Linked DNA regions of Homo sapiens: region 2 is linked to region 1. Evidence: promoter capture Hi-C in human tissues and cell types (Jung and others, 2019). All regions are on one chromosome and are shown on one strand. The core of a region is centred on a gene start or on the middle of the fragment in contact, and the rest is flanking DNA. Distances in the headings are between cores, read along the strand shown. Region 1 holds the start of FGL2 (fibrinogen like 2). Region 2 overlaps GSAP (gamma-secretase activating protein).

Evidence for each region. The method cuts DNA at HindIII sites, captures the fragments that hold promoters and counts their contacts. A contact is called where the count stands out against the background at its distance.
Region 2: a contact is called between a fragment that was not itself captured here and the fragment with the promoter of FGL2 in region 1, in 2 of the 25 tissues and cell types used here (hippocampus and thymus).

What each region holds. Positions count from the first base shown.
Region 1 is chr7:77,198,534-77,201,118 of GRCh38, reverse strand. FGL2 (fibrinogen like 2) reads left to right here and starts at 1,300. Exons shown (of 2, transcript NM_006682.3): 1 at 1,300-1,938. The coding sequence starts at 1,326. All of the region lies in intron 2 of CCDC146 (coiled-coil domain containing 146), which reads right to left. RefSeq lists a silencer at 1,600-1,709. The HindIII fragment of the contact is 7,307 bases long and covers 1-2,585 here.
Region 2 is chr7:77,385,617-77,388,201 of GRCh38, reverse strand. It overlaps GSAP (gamma-secretase activating protein), which reads left to right. Exons shown (of 31, transcript NM_017439.4): 6 at 754-842. Among named protein-coding and RNA genes, the nearest start is that of GSAP, 29 kb to the left of the region's middle. The HindIII fragment of the contact is 4,778 bases long and covers 1-2,585 here.

The sequences.
Region 1 (2,585 bases), core at 51-2,550:
AGGTCTCCTGAGTATGCGAGAATAAATACAGTCATGGAAGAGTAAAGAGTCTGCCAACATTTTGAGAATGTGAATAGGATTTGGCTAAAATTAAGGGGATATACAGAAAAGTCATAGGAAATCAGGTTAAAGACATAAATATGAGATAGGCTACAGAGTGTTTTAAGTAATACAATAAAACATTTAGATTTTTGCCCATGTCAGTCATTTTGAAATTATTTTTAAAGCAAAAAAACCCTTTTTAAACAAGAAATCTTATGAGATGTCAATATGCAAAACAAATTAAAAGGAGGTGGTTTCTCTAACTGAAGCTGTTCCTCTTTCCTGCCTTCAGCCTCTGAAGAGAAAGTTAGAAAACTATTATCATTAATGCTACATGTTTTGAACAAGCTGATATACCAAGTGGCCCAGAGAGCAGGTAGAAGAACCAGCGTGGAGACAGAAAGCAAGAGGCCCGCCTGCCAGGGCTACCTGCAGAAAGAAAGGGCAAAGATGCTGTAGGCAAGAGAAGTTCAGGACAGACACTGGCATAGCTCAAAGATTCACATTTGAGCAGCTGTGGAAGATGACAGTACAATTACCAAAATGTCGAAGGGCAAAGGAGGCAGCTACTGGTTTTGATGAAAGACAATTATGTCCTTTTAAATGGGTCTTAGACATTTAGACATTAATATACACTATGCTACGGACAAAGGAATAGAAAGTAGCACTTTTTTCTCCACTAGTTTTCTTCTCTTTTTCAAGTAGATGAAGCAAAAGTCAACTGCAATAGTCAGAAAGCTGTACTTTGTTACACTTAGAAACTTCTAAAAGTGCTTAAGATTTCACCTGAAAGTCCAACATGAAGAAAATACAGGCTCCCCAATGCCCCATTCTAAGAAGGAAAAAGGACCATTTTCATTTTAGTAACGTTTCTGTTCTATAGACAGTTTGGATAACTAGCTCTTACTTTTTATCTTTAAAAACTGTTTTTCCAGTGAAGTTACGTATAATTATTTACTTCAAGCGTAAGTATACCAAATTACTTTAGAAATGCAAGACTTTTCTTATACTTCATAAAATACATTATGAAAGTGAATCTTGTTGGCTGTGTACATTTGACTATAATAATTTCAATGCATATTATTTCTATTGAGAGTAAGTTACAGTTTTTGGCAAACTGCGTTTGATGAGGGCTATCTCCTCTTCCTGTGCGTTTCTAAAACTTGTGATGCAAACGCTCCCACCCTTTCCTGGGAACACAGAAAGCCTGACTCAGGCAGCTGCCGCTATTAAAGCAGCTCCAGCCCTGCGCACTCCCTGCTGGGGTGAGCAGCACTGTAAAGATGAAGCTGGCTAACTGGTACTGGCTGAGCTCAGCTGTTCTTGCCACTTACGGTTTTTTGGTTGTGGCAAACAATGAAACAGAGGAAATTAAAGATGAAAGAGCAAAGGATGTCTGCCCAGTGAGACTAGAAAGCAGAGGGAAATGCGAAGAGGCAGGGGAGTGCCCCTACCAGGTAAGCCTGCCCCCCTTGACTATTCAGCTCCCGAAGCAATTCAGCAGGATCGAGGAGGTGTTCAAAGAAGTCCAAAACCTCAAGGAAATCGTAAATAGTCTAAAGAAATCTTGCCAAGACTGCAAGCTGCAGGCTGATGACAACGGAGACCCAGGCAGAAACGGACTGTTGTTACCCAGTACAGGAGCCCCGGGAGAGGTTGGTGATAACAGAGTTAGAGAATTAGAGAGTGAGGTTAACAAGCTGTCCTCTGAGCTAAAGAATGCCAAAGAGGAGATCAATGTACTTCATGGTCGCCTGGAGAAGCTGAATCTTGTAAATATGAACAACATAGAAAATTATGTTGACAGCAAAGTGGCAAATCTAACATTTGTTGTCAATAGTTTGGATGGCAAATGTTCAAAGTGTCCCAGCCAAGAACAAATACAGTCACGTCCAGGTATGTATAATAATGTTTTCTTATCATATGTTCATAAATGTTATACAGCTAGAGAGTATCTATAAACATTAACCTGAGTCAGTAAGTTAAATAGATGACAGATTAAGTCTTTTATTTATCAAGGTGCACAGGAAAAAATAAATATCTTCTCAAATATGACCACATAAATATGACCTAATTACAAAAATCATAGTTAGTTCTGTATCCACTGGAAGTCACTTTCAATTTTAAGATCTTATTTGTTAATGCCAGACCTACTTGCAAGCAGAAGTAGAGAGAATTTCTTGATGTTTTAGTGCATTTAACTTGTCTCTTCAATGAGGTGTTTGAAAACAATAAAGATAAGGCGATGTTCACAATTGTGCCTTGTTTGTTGGAAATCAGTTTTTCTTGTGATTGACTGACTGCCGCTTCTCATGGCTAAAGAGGTCTTTGAAAGATTTTAGCAAGTAATCTAGTTCTTAATCCCAAATATCTGGAGAAAATGGGAGAGTTTACAGATGGAATAAAAGCAGTTTCATATGTGTGCACAAATTTTTGCTTTGAGACCTAGTGGCACAAAAAATATTTTAAGGGGAGAGTTTTAGCATGCCACTAAGGGAAGGTATTCATATTTCTTTCTCTTTTACCTGAAGTTAGAATTCAAG
Region 2 (2,585 bases), core at 45-2,544, 190 kb before region 1:
ACAAACAACTTCTTCACTCCGTGCACATTGATTTCTCCCTTGAGATCTTTTCTGTGTCTCTGTTGAATTTGTAGAAATGTCAAAGTCAAACTTTAAAGTCAAACTTTAAGAAAATCACCTTTTTTTCCCCCTGGTAGAATAGCTAATACAATAGTTAGCATATTTATATTTTCAGAAAGTTCAGACATGTCTGCTTTTGCAAATCATAGAATTGTGATAATTGGGAAAAATGATATCCATTAGAAACCCGTTAGGCCCTCTTATATGTTGCTGGTGAGAGTGCAAAGTAATATACAGTGATCTTTGAATTCAGAAGCCACTTGTGTTTTAAATGTGATGCTTTTCTGTAAATGCAGAATTCTTATAATCTGAAATTTGTCTCCCTTGTATCTACTGTTGTTTCCAGGGCTGTTCAAAGACTTCCCTTTTCACATTTGCATTTCTTGAGTATCCTGTGGTTTTCATAATAAAATGCAGCTTCTTCAGGGCTCCTGAGGGTGTGGAAGGCAGGTCCTTTGCTGGGCTGATTGCTCTTTTGGGGTCCTGGAGCCGCTACACATCCTAGAGAGTAGAACTGGGAACAGATTTACAGTTTCAGTCTCCTCACAGGACTCTAGGATGGTGGTAGAATTGTTTTATTAGTTTATAGTCACTGTAGTAGGATTTACCGGAAATTGTTCTTACTCCTTGCTTTGGAAAAAATAATGTGTGATATTACAATCTTCGTTACTAAAAGCCTTCTTTTCTCTGTAGGATCAAAGTGCTTGACTTTGTTGGTTGAAATCCACCCTGTTAACAATGTGAAGGTTCTAAAGGCTGTGGATAGCTATATTTGGGTTCAGGTAAGTAAGCATGCCATTTATCACTTATCTCATTAATCAAAAGGCATGCAGCCTAGAAGAATTGGGGTTTACAAAGTACTTTCACTCTATCATATTTAATCCTCAGAACAGTCTTGTAGACTACTATGGCTGGAAGTATCCGCTCTTTGTTTGCAAGCATGGAAATTAAGAACTCGAAGCTAGCTCCACCAACTCTGTTTGTTTCTTAGTAATGTAATATTTTCTCATGATAAAATATCAAATATTAAAACACATTTAAGGTAAGCTTTAAAATGGTCAATATAATGTATTTGCATGGTTGACAGATTAAGTATCTATGGTTAAATGGCTTAATCCCTGAATTTATCAACTTCATGAGTTGATGCAGAAACTGCATGTATAATGTAGGTGGCATAGATACAGTCATTCCTCATTATTTGCAGATTCCATATTTGCATATTCTGCTGCTCCTAAAATTTATTTGTAACCCCTAAATTAAACACTTATAGTACTTCGTCAGTTATTTGCAGATACATGCTGAGTGGTGAAAGAATTTGTCACCCAACATGCACATTCGCAATTGAGGTTGAACACGGTGATGCCCTGCCTTTTTTGCTTTAGCTCTCATACTAAAATGACAGTTGTTTTCATGGCCTAGTTCCATCTTTCAATTTTTGTGCTTTTTCCTGGCGATTTCACAGTTTAAACGGCTTCCAGGAATAGCGCTGAGGCACCGTCTAGTGTTCCTAAGTGCAAGAAGGCTGTCAGATGCCTTAGGGAGAAAACATGTGTTTCAGATAAGCTTCATTCAGGCATGAGTTACTATGCTGTTGGCCATGAGGTTAAGGAGTGTCTTTAAATAGAAACACACAAAACAAAATTATATACTGATCTGTTGACAAACATGCTGTGACTAGAGGCTTCCAAGAATTTATCCTTGTTTGGGTTTGGATCATAATCCCAAAAGACAATCCTGAACACCATAATCCTGAATGTTGAAATCCTGAAAGGTCAAAAGTCTACAGTCCCAAAAGCCATGATCACAGGATAGTTAGTATACACGAGTGTCTATACTTTCAAAACTGTGTATGTTATTATTGCCTATTTTATTGTATAAAGTGGACTATGAAGTGTTCTTTTGTGTTTTGCTTCTCAGATAAGTCTTCTTTTAAAAATGTCAATACATCTTTTAAATAATTTTTAAAATTATTTTCTTCCAGAATTATATTTTTGGGATTTTGATCTTTTGGGATTTCAATATTTAGGATTATGGCATTTGGGATTGTGTCTTTCAGGATTATGATCAACTCCCTTTGTATTTCCCTAGAAACAATGGTTCAGTATTCAGTATACGACATTTGTGGTGACTTTACAGAACATAACTACTGCAAATAATTTGAATGAACTGTGTGTGTTCACACAGTGCTACAGCATAATTTCCTTTCGCCTAATTTCACATTTTGTTACAGGGTCAAAATATCATTTCTTTTGGTCTAGCCAGAGTCAATTTGCACCACTCAAAGTATCTGCCTTTTTGTCCCCCAAGCTATTACCAGCCTCCACCCTATGGGCCTCCCTATTCCAGTGGGTTAGGGGAGAGGGTTGTCTCTCTCTTCCCAGGGTCCTCCCCTGTCAGCCAGTCCTTTCAGCTGCGCATTTCCCCGCCACTCCTGACAGCACTGTGGTCGCTCCTCAATTCCAGATATGGCCTGGCCTGAAGCTCCCAAGCTGCATTCTCCTACCCTCAGGAAGCTACTCCGTCTA